5 separate regions of the Homo sapiens genome follow, and all the other regions are linked to region 1. The links are contacts of gene promoters, found by promoter capture Hi-C in blood cells and fetal thymus (Javierre and others, 2016). All regions are on one chromosome and are shown on one strand. Each heading gives the region's core, a stretch centred on a gene start or on the middle of the fragment in contact. The rest is flanking DNA. Distances are from core to core; before and after follow the strand shown. Region 1 holds the start of MRPL3 (mitochondrial ribosomal protein L3). Region 2 holds the start of SEC22A (SEC22 homolog A, vesicle trafficking protein). Region 3 holds the start of MYLK-AS1 (MYLK antisense RNA 1). Region 4 overlaps CCDC14 (coiled-coil domain containing 14). Region 5 overlaps ZXDC (ZXD family zinc finger C).

Region 1 (3,267 bases), core at 1-2,500:
AAAAGAAAAAATAAATAAAACCAAACCACAATTTAAAAACTTCCTCCACTTAATATAGAAAAGGGAAGTCACAAATTGGAAAGTGTAGTCAGGGCCTTGGGAAAGGGCTTGGATTCTGTATACCTTTTTTTCAGGTCTCCAACCTTTTCCTCACTCCCCACATTCCTTCGGATAAGGCTCACATTTAAACTGTTAGTCGTTACCCTGGAGAAAAAAATTCATCTTCTCCTCGCAGATAAACATATTCCCCAAAAAACAGTCCTACCTATAGACATGAAAAGCCACTAACCCATTTGGAAGTGTACCTTAATAGTTTTACATTCAGTGGAGGTGGCAGAAGGTGGCATGTTGATCTTTGTCTAACAAGCTCACCTCCTCCCTGCAATGACATGGCCTAGGTTCAGAGAAGTGAAGAAACTGGGTGTGCAAAGTTAAAAGATCCACAAAAGGCATGACCTCTGAACAGGTGAACATACCAAGAAAGACCTTAGTGGGCGGAGGTCAGGAAGAAGGGGTGTAATTCTTGCATGGAGGGTCAGAACAGAAGTAAAGCTTTCTGCAGTCTACTCTCCTTTTGTAGTCAGATAAATTCAGGCTAGATTCCTAATTTTCCACTTATTAGTTGAGTGACTTTGGGCAAATTAACTCACCTCCCTAACCTTCAGTTTTATCTGTAAACCTTATGATAGCAGTTTGCTCCCGTGAGGCTACATAAGGCACCTAATACACTTAGCAGAGCGCTTAGTACCTGGCAAACGCTCACTAATTGTAAGATATGATTGCTGTTAATAGCGTTCGCTGCTAGTGGCTGGCTCATAAGCGTTTTTTAAAAATCACCACTTCAATCCCCTTAGAACGTGCTTCCTTAGGTTAACGGCCCTTATTCTTCTGTGTCCCACGTCTCAACAGAGCCCCTTCCTCCTCCACCCAGGGGAGGCCCAACTGCACCAGGCCATTCCACTGCTTCAGGACGCAACTGTGCAGGTAGGACACCCTCACACCTTCCTACCTGTTCCCCGGGCCCAGGGCAGCACCCAGGCCGTCCCCGAGTCGACCCAGCACCTGGGCGCCGACCTGCGTCAGCAGCCTCCAACCCGGCATGGATTAGCCCGGGAAGACTCGACTCACGACTTCCGGGCGCCCTGCCGCTCTGCTTTCAGGGAGTCCCCACGCCACCGCCACGTGGACGCAGTAGCCGTGGGGAAGTTTTCGCAATGGCCGCCGGAACGGTCGCCGGCCGATGCTCTCTGCGACGGAAAGAAAGCCGCCGGACCCACTTCCGGTGCGTTTTACAATGAACTCCGGGCACTCGAGTCGCTCCCCGGAAACTATAGTTCTGCTTCCACCGTTGTCCTACTTTGGATGTGAGTTGGAGTAGGTAGGGGTGGGAAGGGACTGACTCGCCTCTCCAGGGGTAAAATAAAAGGGATGTTCAGAGTTTAAACTTTAGAAGAATAAGGACAGACTTCCTGAGGACGCTAAGGAAAATGAAGACACTTCTAAATAGTGCCCGTTGTGAGGCAATGCATTATGCTAAGCAGCGCTTCATAATCCTATATTTGTTAATCATAAAAAACGGTCCTGAAAGGAAGTATTTATTTTTCTATTATAAATGAGGAAACTGACTCAGAATTTAGGTGCTGGTCCAAAACAACACATCTGGCAGAGGAGCAGAGTTGGCACTGAAACAGGGTTGGCATGTGTTATCAATAGACTACACCCATAGAAATGATGTATGCCTTCTAGGGCTGGATCATAAAACATATTGTTACTTCAGTTTTTGTCTCTTGGATTGCTCCCTGTGGAGAAAGCTAGCCTTCATTTCCTGCAGACACTCAAACAGCTCTGCAGGGAGGAACATATAAAGAGGAATCAACTAGCCAGTCATGACTGAGCCACCTAGGAAGTGGATCCACCAGTCCTCGGCTGCAACTCATGGAGACGTTAAGCCTGAATCTCCCAGCCAGGCCGCTCATGAATTACTGACTAGGAGAAATTGCCAGAGAAAATAAATGATTACCGTTTTTTTGAGTCATTAAGCTTTAGGGTAATTTGTTATGCAATAATAGATAGCTAATACACCTGCACAAAAAATCCCCTGTCTTGGGTTCCAGATCTAGCCTAATAACCATGTATGTGACTAGGACATTTATTCTTCTACTAATTCCCTTATTTGTCAGATTACTGTTTGTAGAAATTTGGAAATAAGAACTTTAAAGTGTAGCTATTTCAACCTTCTCTTTTTACTAGAGATCTGGCTATCTTGGTTTAACAGGTCCAGACAATGGTCAATTCCTGGCCATTACTTGGACTTTAGTGGGCTAAAAAATCTTTGCTTTGCTTGTCCATTCATTCCACTCATTGCTGTTGCAGTTACCTTAGACACTTTTCAATAATACTTTGGACCTTGAAGGAAAAACTACATCTCTTCATTCTAGCCATGCTGCCTGGCTTCCCAGATACTTAAGGATGGCTCTTCATTGAACAAACATGTTTTGAGGTGTGCTACATGCAAGAAGTTGAGAATAAGAAGATTTCTGTACTACTGCCAATAACTAACATTTCTTATCCATATAGTGTGCTAGAGTATGTGCTCAGCATTGTGGAAGCCCATAAGCCAAGGCTACTAGAAGAAAACGTGAACTCATACAAAGTCAAGTTTAATTAGCTTGATGCAGCAAAAGACAGCATATGTCTGAGGATGTTTCCAAAAGAGTGACCTGGGAGGGGCTTGAAATGAAATTTGGACTTAAGGCTGAGTGATTTTAAAGTGGCATCAGAGAAGCAGGAACTTGTTTTAGAATGGGTGCTGTCAAGAAGAAAGGACAGTTCAGCAATTGGATATCTTGATAGTCTTTGTTCTAGAGACAGGAAGAACAGAGAGGAAGTGGGCATGATGTTCATAAGAAAGCAGGAATCACTCAGAATAAGGAACTGTTAGTCATTTTGCTGCAGTGGTGTGGCCTACAGTACGGTCTGTAAGAAATATTGTAATGATGGGCTGGGCGTGGTGGCTCAGCACTTTGGGATGCCAAGGCGGGTGGATCACGAGGTCAGGAGATTGAGACCATCCTGGCTGACATGGTGAAACCCCTTCTCTACTAAAAATACAAAAAAAAATTAGCCGGGCGTAGTGGCGGGTGCCTGTAGTCCCAGCTACTCAGGAGGCTGAGGCAGGAGAATGGTGTGAACCTGGGAGGCGCAGCTTGCAGTGAGCGAGATTGAGCCACTGCACTCCAGCCTGGGTGACAGAGCAAGACTCCGTCT
Region 2 (3,267 bases), core at 411-2,910, 8.3 Mb before region 1:
GTTGAGATGGGGTTTCACCATGTTGGCCAGGCTGGTCTCGAACTCCCAACCTCAAGTGATCCACCCCCGCCCCCGGCCTCCCAAAGTGCTGGGATTACAGGCGTGAGCCATCGCGCCTGGTCAGAATATTCTAAAATTTATTTATTTCATGAACATTCTTATACATATGTTTTCTGGTGAATATATGAATACATTTATGTTGAGTATATATCTAGGACAAAATTTATGTTAGTTCAGGCCTTTCTTCTGAACTCTAGACCTACATATCCAAATCTACTTGACATCTCCATTTATAGGCATTTCAAATTTAACATATTCCAAACCATTTGCTCCTCTTTCTGTGTTCCATGAGTCAGTAAATGGCTTCTTAATCCATCTAGTTACTTAAGGAGTCATCCTTAATATTCCTTTTTGTTGACCCTTCCCGGCAAACCAATCCGTTATGAAGTCCCTTGGATACCATTTCTAATTTATACATATCTTGAAATTATCTACCTCTTTCTGTCTCTAACTCCCATTACACTAGTTCAAGCCCCATCATTTCTGGCTTTGCCTGACGCAACTGCCTCCAAATGGCTTTCCAGCAGCCCTTCTTGCCCTTTTCCACACTATTCTCCACAAACAGCCTGAGTGATTCTTAAATATGCAAATAGGATCCTACTTAATAGTCTTTATTAGCTGCCCATTGACCTTGGGCTGAGATGAGACAAGGGCCAGACCATGCTGACTCTTATTGGCCACATTACAGATTTCAGGCTGTATTTTGGAAGATATCTTAAGGTCAACGGGCAAAGTTTCTCCTTGCTCCCTACACTCCATCCACACTGACTCCCTTTTAGTTCCTAGAGCACAAGAAGTTCTTTCATGCCCCGACAACCTCACACAATATTTCCTTGGCGGGGAACATTCTCTAAGGCTCTTCAATATGCCTGCCGCTTAAAAGGCACTTATTCAGAAGTCTTTTCCCTGATAGTCCAAAATTAATTGATCATTGCACCCACTAATTTTCCCTCCCAATACTGACAATTTGTAGTTCTGTAACTATTTATGCTTTAATATCTCTTGCTCCAATTACTCCTTAAATTCCATCAAGTGTTATGTCCACTCCTGTAACCCCGTGCTTAACACGGTGCTTGGCACATGGTAAACAGTCAGGAAATGCCTGTTTAATAATGCATGACCGATGCGAAGGCTGGAAGGGGTCGCAGGGTCAGCATCTGGCACTTCTCTGCCATGGTTAGTTTCCTTCTTGTGTGTGGGAATAGACGGGGCCAGGTCTTCTCCTTGCTCACCCAGAGGGGGCTTTTCTCCCTGTCCCCTTTATAAGTGTCTGCTGTAGGGCCGCGTGTGAGAGACAAAATGCCTGCAGAAACAGGGCGGCGAGCGGAAGAGATTGGCCCTATTTCTGAAGTCAACGTAGTTCTGTCATCAGAGGATGCTGTACTTTTCTGGCGCAGGTGCGAGAGAAGCTGCCAATCTCTCCTGGAGCGGGTGGGACTAAGGAGGGCCCCGGGAGCTGGGGGGTTGTTGTGTCCTTCCTGCAGAACCCGATTGGCCTGGGTGAGCTGAGGGAACGGGGGCGTGGTTTGATTCCGCGGGCGCGAGCCACGTTGGACGCGCCGCAGCGTCGCCGAAAGGTCCCTCCCAGGCCCCACAATGCACTTCGGGGCGCGTCACTCGGAGCGGCGGGTCCCGTCTCGACAGGTACTCCCCGGCCCCTCCCAGTCCTCTTCTTCCTTTCTTAGGGGTCGTTCGAATCCCTGCCGGCCTCTCCCCTCCCGCTCCCTGCCTCTCGCCACAGCCTCGGCCTTCGCCCTCGGGATTGAAGACCTACCCCACGGGCAGGAGCCAAGTCCGTGCCTTTGGGATGGGAGTCGGGGCCGCGGAGCTCTGGAGGGACGGGCAAGCGGGGACCCCGTCCCCTTCGACTTGAGGGTTCTCTGGGGCCAGGCGGGCGGCGGTTGCGCCTCGTCTGAGCCGCCTCGGGTGTTGGGCAGCCAGGAAAGGAGTGTTTGAAGGGGAGGGACAGTCGCACTTGGCTGTCAGCATGGTGGTGGGGATTCCCTGGCGCCCAGGTGTCAGAAACACGGTGATCTACCTGTGTAGGTGGCCCATGAGAGCTTGAGGTGGCATTTCCTATTTCTTTTAGGCAGAATGGGACTTGAACCAGTGTCTTACTTTACGTTTTGTGGGGATGGAGTGAGCCCTGAGCCCAGATATTTGCCCGCGTTGGCTCACGGAAATCTCTTGAGACCCTGTCTCAAGAGTCACTTTGGGAACGATGTGGCAGAAGGGAGACCTGAGCAATTGGCTCGGCAAGTGGAGGAGGCTTCCAAAAGAAAAGGACAAGCCCCAGCTGGCTTGAATCTCTCTGCCAGTGAAGACAGCTTAAGATAATTTTTCCCTGCTGCTTAGTTTCCTGGATCATCCACCTGGGGCAGGGGGCGAGCTTGAGAACCAGTCCCTCCTATGCCTATTCAGCCAAGGCAAAGCCTAGCCCAGAGCAAAAGTATCAGCCACCAGACTGGAGATGTTGGGATCTTCAGTCAGGGGAACAGCCACTTTTCAAACTCTGAATCACTTTCCATGTTACTGATATTTGCTTACATGCTAAGATTGTAAGGAATCAGGCAATGCCTTAAACGGTACCTACAATTTCTGATATATTAAGGTTCATTCAGTATTTGACTCTGACACCTGTGACCATATCCTAAAGTAATGGGACATTCGGGTATTTCCTATGTTGAAAACCATCACATCTGTTTAGTGCCTTTTTTTTTTTTTTTTTTTTTTTTTTTTTTTTTTGCGTGCAACTGGTTAAAATCGAAGTATATCTTATGTTGGTATATGAAAGAGGCCTAGGTCTTATCACAGGGGTGCCTGTGACCTTCCTTGAGTGTCTCACAGAGTTGTTAGAATTGGGCCTGAGTTTAAATCCCTACTTTGTCACCTACTCGTTTAGGGATTAAAAAAAATTCCTCAAGCTTTCTGGGCTTGAATTTCCTCAAAGGTAAAATGGAACTAATAATACCTATCTCACAGGTTTTTGGAACGCTTAAATGAGGTAATGTGTATAAAGTGCGTGGTCCATGGAGAGTAATCAATAAATAATACAGCAAATATTTAATGTAGTGCTTTTAGCATGTTACAAGGCAATGTTTCAGGCACTTTACATGATCCTATGAGATAGATACTATTGTCATCTTTAAAACAAGCCTATGAGATAGATGCTATTAGTAGCCACAATATATAGATGTGGAAATTGAG
Region 3 (3,267 bases), core at 293-2,792, 7.9 Mb before region 1:
TAGGACTTCTTAAAAAATTACAAATGAAGATAACTTAAAAATATATAACTGTCTGATGCTGTGATCCTCCTCACCAAAATGACAAGATAAAGAATTGCAGAGCTGAAGGAACCTTCATCACCCAGACCAACCCTTTAGTTTTACAAATGAAAAAACGGAGGCTAGAGAAATAAGATGATTTATCCAAAGTCACACAGCTAGTTAGTGGCAGAGCTTGAACTAAAAACCCGCCGGGATAAGGGATGCACTGAAATGAAAGAGACAGAAGATGGGTAAAACCGTTTCGAGGGTCCATTCTCCCCCTTTCCAGTAACTCTGCCTTCTACTCCCCAGTTTCTTCCCCACCCCAACCCATCCTAAAAGTCTAAACTCATCTAAAGCCTAGCTCTGCTCATGTCGCTGGCCAAAAACTTTGAACGCTTTCCCAATACCTTTCAGATTAAAGCGCAGCCCAGATTTTGAAAACAGCCGCCCAAATGAATGGTCACTCTGCAGCCACAGCTCCTCCACTCCCCATGCTGGCGCCGTTCAACATCCGAATCTGGCCGCCCAGGACGGGCTCCGCGCCGCAGGTAGTCCGGCCGCTGCCCCCGGCCCCGCACCTGTGGCCAGCCCCACCTTTCCTCCCGCGGCCCTCGCGAGCCAGCGCCCGGCAGCCGTCCCCGCGCCCCAGTGCCTGGGAACTTGGCTCGACCCCCAGCGCAGGAGGGAGCTCGCGGGCAGCCACCGGGGCCGATTCAGCGCTCGGCCGCCCTCAGCGCCCAGGTACCGGGTCCCGGGCACCCCCCGCCGGGAATGCACTGCCTGCGGCGGGCCGCGCCGATCCTATCCGCCCCGCCGCTGGCCGCAGGGCTCCCTCCCCGGCCGCGCTGGCTCCCCGCCTCCCCGAGCCCCAGCCTCACCCGGCTGTCATCACCACATTGTAGATGACCAGGTACGCCGTGGCCAGGGGCCCCGGGCCCTTCTTCTTCCGCGTGCCGCTGGCGTCCCCGGCCCCGGCCCTGCCACCGCCGCCCCCATTCCCCTTCGCTGCTGCAGTCGCCGCCACTGCCGCCATGTCAAGTGCCCGAAGCCCGCTCTCCTAGCGCGAGCGGCTCGGGCCGGACTACGCGAGGAGAGGGGGCGGAGGAAGGGACGAGGGGCAGGCGGGGCCAGGGCCGCGGGGCGGAGCCGGGACAGGGTCCACGGCAGCCGCCATCTTGGCTGAGGGCAAAGACGCTCCTGGCGCTCCCGTCTTTCGGCTTGCCTCAGTTGCCACTGCCATCTTGGATCAGGGTAATTCCCGCCTCTTGGGCGCTCCCGGTTACAACCTCGGCGCCATCTTGGATTAGTTCAATGTAGCCACCCTCTCCAGGCCCGCTGCTTCTGCCAGCTGGATGTTGCGTCGTCCCTCGCTATTCGCCCTCCTATAATCACTGCTTCCATGTTGAATCAAAACAATTATGCTTTCGTTCTCCCTTCTTCAATTGCCCTATCTTCACACCTGAACACTATTGCTCCGGTATCCTGCCATTTTGGATCAGGGCGGTTGACGGTGGATTCACTTCCCATCAGCCCTTGAGGCTGCAGGGACCAGCCCTTTGGTAGGTGCGCTTTGCTTCCTAACCCGTTGCCGGGTTGGAGATTCCACCTCCGAAGTTTTCTTTCTGACTTTTGATTTTACATTCCTAGTACAGTGGAGAAGCCCAGGCGGCCTAGAATCCAGTGTCGTCCGTGAGTGCTTGGCTGGTGTTCAAGTGCATCTTCCAGCCTGAGACCGCGTGGACTCGCTCATCGTGAGGGCGAGAGGAGGATAAGCCCATTGGGCTGTCGGCTGAGAGTGAGGTGCGGGGTAAGGGAGTAGATTTATAGCTATAGTGACTAAAAATAAAAGGATGTTGGCTTAGGTGGAAAACCTCTCTGCTTTGGGAAGCTGGAGCAGCTTGTGGGCATTGCTTCAACCAGCTGATCCCACTTTCCATTCATTGCTTTGTTTCAGGAGGTTCTTTATTTGTAAACGTCCCCTGCAATTTTTTACACACCCAAGCAGCTCCTTAAATGTATTACTGTATATGTGGTAGTATAAAATATTTATGGGTTCATTCCAGCAAGTGTTTATGGAGCGTCCACAAAGTTGCCCTGGAGTTCATGGCACTAAGTGAAAGAGACAAAGTCGTCAGTCTCCCAGGGATTATATAGAGCAGCGGCCCCCAACCTTTTGGTCAACAGGGACCGGTTTCGTGGTGGGGGGGTGGATGATGGTTTCAGGATGATTCAAAGGCATTACATTTATCATTAGATTCTCATAAGGAGCACACAACTTAGATCCCTCCAATGCGCAGTTCACAATAGGTTCCCCGCTCCTATGAGAATCTGATGCCACCGCTGATCTGAGGGAGGCGGAGCTCAGGAGGTAATGCTCCCTTGCTTGCTGCTCACCTCCTGCTGTGCCTCCTGGTTCCTAACAGGCCAGGGATTGGTTCTATCCGCAGCCTGGGGCTTAAGGACCCCTGAGGGAACCAGACGAAAATGCTCGTATTAGTTGGTGAAAAGTGGTATCAGGAAGTTATTACAATAATCCAGCCATGGTGATAGTGGTGTGGGCCAGAGTGGTGGAAATCGAGGTGATGAAAACAACAATGAATTCTGTGCGTATTTTAGAAGTAGAATTATAAGATTTGTGGATATGTTAGTTTTGGAGTGTGAGGTCAAAGGCGTTTTGAGCAACTTGTAAGAAACCATTTTTAAGGCGGAAGTCGGGAATTTTGTTTTTTATATGTTGAATTTGAAATCCTTATTAAACATCCAAGTGGAGAGGCTGGATAGACAATTAAATTTAGACCCTGAGGTTCGGGAAGGAAGTCCAATGGGCTAGAGATATAAATTTGAGAGTTGTCAACCTAAAATAATAAAAAAGGTAAGAATCTAGTTTAAAGGAAGTTTATTCAAGCATAAAGGTTGAAGATGGCTACCTGGGAGCATAGATTCAAGTTACCCTAAATATACACTCTGATTAGCAGCGGTTATGAGTGGGTTTTTAAAGGAAAAAGAGGCAGCTTCTAAGTTGTTTACTAAGAATTTACATTAAAATTACATTAGCTATTGATTGGCTATAAACTATTCTTTGTATCACAGATTCCAGGAACATGAAGATAATGGGTGAGGCTGCTAGTCAGGAACAAAATGTCTAAACAGTTGCCCCCAGGCAAACTCTTGTCTCTGGGCCTGATAAATTTTTGCATACTTCACATAGCTCAGACAGCTCAGAGCTGTTTGAGGTATTATCTT
Region 4 (3,267 bases), core at 296-2,795, 7.5 Mb before region 1:
ATAATATATTATAGCAGATAAACAAATATTTTTCTATTATATTTTCAATATGCTATCTTGACAAAATTTAATGTCATTTTTTTCTTTTATTCATCTTCTCAAACTGAAACTCTGCATCCATTAAACAATACCTTTCCATCCCCTCTTCTCCCTGACCCTAGCAACTATCATCCTAGTTTCTATGAATTTGACTAGTCTAGAAACTTTATATAACTGAAATAATACAATATTTGTTCTTTTGTGACTGGCTTATTTCACTTAGCATAATGTCTTCAAGCTTCATCTATATTGTAGCATGTGTCAAAATTTTTCTTCCTTTTTGAGGTCAAATATATTCCATTATATGTATGTACCACATTATTCACTGTTTTAATTAATGTGATATATCCTAAAAATACACAATTATAATTTAATTCATATATTAAATTTCTTTTATGTAAAACGTCAAGCAAACTACACATATATTTGTTCCTTAAGTCTATTTAAGGTGAAAAGGAAATTGAGATACTATTTTAAACCAGAAGTAACTACTACACTAAGTTCAGACTATATTAATCCCAAAATATGTTCTATAGTCCCAAATTCTTTGAAACATGCAAGTTAATTCATGATATAGGACAGAGTTCTTAACTCTGGTTCCTTTTATGTACATTCTTTAGAATGCCTGATTAGACCAGGAAGTGAGAACTCTACCCTGTCTCTTTATCTACATCTCACTGTCTTAATTTTTCTTTTTAAATTCATATACCACTGTTGTTTTCTTAAACTTTTTTGTTTTAAAAGTGACAATAATGGACAACCTTTTGTGTAGAAAAACAGGAAAAAATAAGCATTTGCTTTTACATGCATCCAGTATCTTGGGAGTTATGCCAGAAACAGTTAATCATGGTTGCCTCTGGGGAGGGAAACAGAGTATCTGGGGGACAGAGCGAGAAGGGACACTTTCCATGGTATACTATTTTATATCTTAATAATTTTATATCAGATAAATATAATCTTTATTCAAAATAATTTTAAATAGACATGAGAAAGTCCCTGATTCCCCCCCTAGTTCCACCCTCCAGATGTAGTCACTGTTGGCAGTTTTATTTATAATTTCTCTTCACATATTTAATTTCATCTCCAGATAGCTTTGAGCTGTAACTACCAAACTTTCTAAAGTTATACGGCATTCTATTATATGCTTGAATATGTGCTCCATCCTTCTAAGAATGTCACTGAGAATACATTTTTTAAAAACTGGGTTGGTAAGAGTTATACGTCTTGAGATAACTTGGATTATGATGGAGGGTCATGAAGCCAGCAGTGAGAACCAACAATGTAGGAAATAAGACCTTGTATAACATCACACCACTGGTCTCTGCATCACACTCTCAGGGTCCTTCCCTTTGGTATATTTATGTCGATGTCTTGGCTGGAATCATAATAAAAAATCCAAGCCATGACACTATAATACTATACCCTGGATCGAGTCCAAAAACAACTACCACAATTAAAGTACACTGTCTGAGGTATATGTCTGGCATAACTGTAAGATTACATATGGTGTTTCTCCAAAAAATATACACAAGGCTATATTATAGAAAATCTGGTAAAGAAAACTACCCATGATAAAAGCACCTTGAAACAGTAACTGTCATATTGGAACAATTCCTTTCAATTTTTTTTTGTAGTTTCTACTATGAAATAATAGTACAAAGATGCCCTATATATGCTTCACTCAGATTCTGTGAACCTTGACATTTTCCATATTCTCTCTCAATATATATACACAGCAGTACTTTTTGCCTGAACCATTAGAGTTAAGTTTGCAGATACAATACTCCTTTACTCCTAAATGTTTCCTAAAAACAAGGCCATTCTCTAACATAACCACAGTATAATTATCAAAACCAGGAAATTAACATTGATACAGAATTACAATCTAATATTCAGACCTTATTCACATGTTGCCAATTATCCCAATACTGTTCTTTACAAAAAAAAACCCAAAAAACAAAAATCCCTCTGGTTCACGCCCAATCCATGCTCACATTCTGTTTCTATGAGTTTTAACTATTTAGGTACTTTATGTAAGTAAAATCATGCAGTATTTGTCCTTCTGTGACTAGCTTATTTCACTTAGCATAATGTCTTCAAGTTTTGTCTCTGTTGTTGCATATGACAGCTATTTCTTTCTTTTTAAAGGTTGAATAATAGTCCATTGTATGTATATACCATATTTTCTTTATCTGTTCATCTGCAGATAGAATTTGGGTTGTTCCCACATTTGGCTATTGTGAATAGTGCTGCAATGAACACAAGAGTGCAAATATCTCTTCTATATCCTGATTTCAATTCTTTTGGATAAATTCCCAGAAGTAGAATTGCTGGGTGATATAGTTCTATATTTAATTTGGTGAGGAATCTCCATATTGTTTTCCATAGCAGCTATACCATTTTACATTCCCACTGACAGTGTACAAGGGTTCCAATTCTTCCACATCCTTGCCAACACTTGTTTTCATTTTTTTAATGTCATCCTAACAGGGGTTAGGTGATAGCTCATTGTGGTTTTAATTTGCATTTCCTGGATTAGTGATGTTGAGCATCTTTTCATATACCTGCTGGCCATCTGTACATTTTCTTTGGAGAAATGTCTATTCAAATCCTTTTTTCGTTTTTTAACCAGGTTATGTGTTGTTCTGCTTTTGAGTTATAGAAATTCCTTATATGTATTTTGGATATTATTTATCAGATACATGGCTTGGAAATATTTTCTCCCATTCTGTAGATTGCCTTTTCACTCCATTAATCATTTCCTGTGCTGTGCAGAAGCTTTTTAGTTTGATGTGTCCATGCTCTTCTTATATTACCCCTGCTCAGCCCTGGAGTTGGTCATTTCTCCAAGAAGCCATGACTCCTTAGTGGACAGTGGTACGTGGAAACCAAGATCTAGGTACTAGATGTGTTCTTTGCTATTGGGGCCTCCAATCTTTTTTCATATGCATTTTTTACTTAGTCATAATACCTAGATATTTGCAATTTTAAATCCTGTGTTTTCTACTTTTAAATCTTTTTCATATTCATAAATTTTTAATGGTTGTATAATATTTCCTTCAGTGGAAGTAATATAATAATGGTCTTGGTTTGCTTCATATTTTTCACAATTAAAAAAACAAACCTGGAATAAGCCTTTCTATCTACTGAAAACAGCCTTTTTATATTTAGGATTAAAAAGAAAATTATTTGGTGAAAGGTTATTAGCAATTTAATAACCCTTGATAC
Region 5 (3,267 bases), core at 439-2,938, 5.0 Mb before region 1:
CTGACGGAAGGAGGAACTGTTTCTCAGTTACACCACTTGTATATATGTTCATTATGTTCTAAGAGCTAGGCTCAGCTTTAAATGGGTCTTTATTATTCTCTCTTCCAGGTAAGGAAACCAAGGCCCAGAGAAGCAGCTTGACTGAGGCCACCACTTTAGGGAGCGGTAGAGCCAGACTTTGAATCCATGACCACCCGACGTGTCCTGGCTCACTGCCTCCCAGTGCACCTGCAGAACTAGAGTAGGGCCAGCACGCACAAGTCACGCACAGGTCACGCAGCCAATTTCTGGCAAATGAACTGAGCCTTCAGTGTTTTAAAGGAAAAAACCACTCTACTATACCTTTTAAAAAGTCAGGTTGGGCGTGGTGGCTCACACCTGTAATCCCAGCACTTTGGGAGGCCAAAGTGGGTGGATCACTTGACGTCAGGAGTTTGAGACCATCCTGGCCAACATGGTGAAACCCTGTCTCTACTAAAAGCATAAAAATCAGCCAAGCGTGGTGGCATACGCCTGTAGTCCCAGCTACTCAGAAGGCTGAGGCATAAGAATCACTTAAACCTGGGAGGCAGAGGTTGCAATGAGCCAAGATCACACCATTGCATCCAGCCTGGGTGACAGAGCAAGACTGTCTCAAAAATTAAACAAAAAAAGAAAAAGTCAGTCTAGCTTTACTGCTCTCCAATTACAAAATGATTGGAGTGACAATTCAAACGTGATCTCAAAAGTACCTACCATTTACTGAGTCCGAGCTCCATGCCAGATGGATAAACAGGCATTTTCCACATTTCACCTAATCCTCACGACCACCAAATTAAACAGGTAACTTAACTAGAGCCACAGATCTAATGAGGATCAGGGCCATGAGTCAAACTGCGTCTGATTCTCAAGTCACTGCTCCCAAAATAGTACAATTAACTCAATGAGGTAAGTAAACATAATGCTGCAACTTATATTGAGTCAGTCTTTAAGCAGCTAACATTTACCTTTAAACAACGGAAACTTAACAGGATAAATGTTGGCATTGCACTTAGTTTACTGCTCAAAGCAATGTTTTAAAATCTACCTTCCACAGGACACTCGAACGGCTTTGTGCCTAGGTGGGTTATGCTGTGGCCTTTCAGATGCTCTGCTCTGGTGAATGATTTCCCACAGCCCTCGACAGGGCAGGTAAACCTCCGGTCATCGTCATGTTTCCTGCCAGACAGAAAAATAAAGGAGCTGTGATTCCTCACACAACTCACCATAATTCTTTAAAATTCTACAAAACATACCAAAACACAAACTTTGCATTTACAAAAATGATCAGTACATTTCGGAAAATCTTAATTCTGTCTTTAATCCATGTGAGCAGATTTGCAATTTAGCTACCCCATAAAAATTCTACTTTAATGACTAAGCTGACCCCAGAGTCACACATCAAACAATTAATGCTACTTCAATCTAATATAAGCTAATCTAAGAACAGTGGAGTCCCAAATGTATTGATGAAGGTGTTTCTATTGTTTAGAAACCCCAATGATCAACAAGCTTTCCGAGCGACAGACGGTCGTGAGAAATGTGCACAGAGCATCAGCTGCAATGCCAAAAGGACTCTCTTAAGCCAACTTGTAAAGACTGTGTCTTTTCCTAAGTGACATTTTTATATTAAATCCTCAGAGCCCAGCTGTGCAAGTACAGAAAAACCACTGAATCTCTCCGAGTCTCACTGTAAAACAGGGAGAATAAGAACATTAGCTTTGAGGTTGTTGGGAAGGTAGAAGACACACATGTAAAGTGCTGAGTGTCACCTGGACACAGTCTCCAGGGTTGTCATTACCACCATGAAAACTTGTAATTACATGAAGAAAGCTTATTCTACAATGTTAAGTTAAAAAAAAAACCTGGAATTGTTTTTTTTTTAAGAACAGAGTATGCCAATTTAGCTTTTTTTAAAAAAAGTATACACAGAAAAAACTGACTTCAGGTGATGAGATTCTGAGCAATTTTCTTTTTACAGTTTTCTGAATTTTCCAAATCATCAACACTGAGCTCCTTTTTTAACAACTTAAAAAATGTCTACAGATATTTCATTCATTGGTTTCTGCTGCTGACAAACCACTCATTTTCAAACCTGATAATGCAAACCAAAATGTAAGGATTACCTTCTGTGCCTTAGAAGTTTGGACATGCTGGTGAAGGTCCAGCCACAGCTGTCAGAGTCACAAATAAATGGTCTTTCACCTTATAAAAGAAAAAATTATACAGCATAAAATTTACAACTCCAACAGCTACGATGAAGACAAATCTTGGGTCCAAATGCTGTGCGTTCCCTAGCTCATTACCTGTATGGCTCCGCAGGTGAATTTTCAGCCGACAGGCTTTATCATACTGCTTGCTGCACCCAGGAAAGGAGCAGGAAAAGAGCTCTTGTTCCCTGAAGTGGGCTCGGTTATGGGAAAACAGGGCACTCACTGTGATAAATGTCTTCTCACAGCCTGAACAAGGAAAACACAAACCCTGCTCAAAGCGTGGCAAAAATTATACAACATAGCTAATGCTAGTCACACCCACCAGACCCTGTTCACACTGAAGCAGACAAGGGAAAACATGACTCAGAAGCACTCTCTAAAAAGGGAAGACCATTAATGCTTGGCTTTGTGATCACCACAGGAAGGCAGCTAATGGCAGCCAATAGGCACACGCTGGCCACCTGTTGCAACATGACTTGGAGATGGAGCAACCGATAAAGAGAAAGTCCTCCGTTCACAGCCATCTACTGGCCGGCTCCGGAGCACTGATCCTGCACACACACTGAGACCCAAGAACCCCATGAGAGAAATCAAATACTAAGGAACAAGATTTTGTCTGGTAGGGTTGATCTTTGAAAGGCTACAAATCATCCTACTAGCCAGGATTTTTCACCCCTTGGGGGTGATGCTGCATCCTCTACATATCCAAATTTCCTCCCTGACACCCTCCAACTGCCAGCCCTGTCCCTTGCTGTTTGGATTCTTTTTCCTTTCGCAATTTCCTTAGGTTCCCTGCTTTGTAATCTTCACCTCAATCCTAACCCCTGGCCAAAGCAGCTAAGCCTCAACAATTCCACAGCAATACTTCTCCTCCGACAGAAACATTCAGGGCTCCAACAGGGTGGAAAACATGAGGCTGCAGGATGTTTAACAGGAGTCTTTGCTGCAGCTCCTCTTGGAGCCTTTAACGAGATACTATCATGCCTATGAACTGCCACACAGATGTACATGGCATAGCACTGCCCAAAAGTATCAG

Evidence for each region. Contacts are between HindIII fragments. The CHiCAGO score rates a contact against its expected background, and 5 or more counts as called.
Region 2: a contact is called between the fragment with the promoter of SEC22A here and the fragment with the promoter of MRPL3 in region 1, in 1 of 17 cell types (naive CD8 T cells). The highest score is 5.8, in naive CD8 T cells.
Region 3: the fragment with the promoter of MYLK-AS1 here is called in contact with the fragment with the promoter of MRPL3 in region 1 in 1 of 17 cell types (activated CD4 T cells); the score reaches 5.5 in activated CD4 T cells.
Region 4: a contact is called between a fragment that was not itself captured here and the fragment with the promoter of MRPL3 in region 1, in 1 of 17 cell types (non-activated CD4 T cells). The highest score is 5.3, in non-activated CD4 T cells.
Region 5: a contact is called between a fragment that was not itself captured here and the fragment with the promoter of MRPL3 in region 1, in 1 of 17 cell types (total B cells). The highest score is 7.9, in total B cells.

The regions. Positions count from the first base shown.
Region 1 is chr3:131,501,721-131,504,987 of GRCh38, forward strand. It overlaps MRPL3 (mitochondrial ribosomal protein L3), which reads right to left and starts at 1,251. Exons shown (of 10, transcript NM_007208.4): 1 at 1,010-1,251. The coding sequence starts at 1,101. It overlaps LOC105374114 (a long non-coding RNA gene), which reads left to right and starts at 879. Exons shown (of 3, transcript NR_189111.1): 1 at 879-984. RefSeq lists enhancers at 887-1,573, 1,080-1,149. The HindIII fragment of the contact is 1,488 bases long and covers 551-2,038 here.
Region 2 is chr3:123,200,283-123,203,549 of GRCh38, forward strand. It overlaps SEC22A (SEC22 homolog A, vesicle trafficking protein), which reads left to right and starts at 1,661. Exons shown (of 7, transcript NM_012430.5): 1 at 1,661-1,704. RefSeq lists enhancers at 1,218-1,367, 1,378-1,457, 1,698-1,747. The HindIII fragment of the contact is 4,922 bases long and covers 1-2,982 here.
Region 3 is chr3:123,583,971-123,587,237 of GRCh38, forward strand. MYLK-AS1 (MYLK antisense RNA 1) reads left to right here and starts at 1,543. Exons shown (of 4, transcript NR_121654.1): 1 at 1,543-1,583; 2 at 1,677-1,831. HACD2 (3-hydroxyacyl-CoA dehydratase 2) reads right to left here and starts at 1,083. Exons shown (of 7, transcript NM_198402.5): 1 at 903-1,083. The coding sequence starts at 1,057. RefSeq lists silencers at 408-587, 598-1,207 and an enhancer at 1,268-1,567. The HindIII fragment of the contact is 6,053 bases long and covers 1-3,267 here.
Region 4 is chr3:123,956,803-123,960,069 of GRCh38, forward strand. All of the region lies in intron 1 of CCDC14 (coiled-coil domain containing 14), which reads right to left. Among named protein-coding and RNA genes, the nearest start is that of CCDC14, 2.8 kb to the right of the region's middle. The HindIII fragment of the contact is 2,540 bases long and covers 276-2,815 here.
Region 5 is chr3:126,469,829-126,473,095 of GRCh38, forward strand. It overlaps ZXDC (ZXD family zinc finger C), which reads right to left. Exons shown (of 10, transcript NM_025112.5): 2 at 2,325-2,477; 3 at 2,145-2,223; 4 at 1,067-1,197. Among named protein-coding and RNA genes, the nearest start is that of ZXDC, 4.4 kb to the right of the region's middle. The HindIII fragment of the contact is 321 bases long and covers 1,529-1,849 here.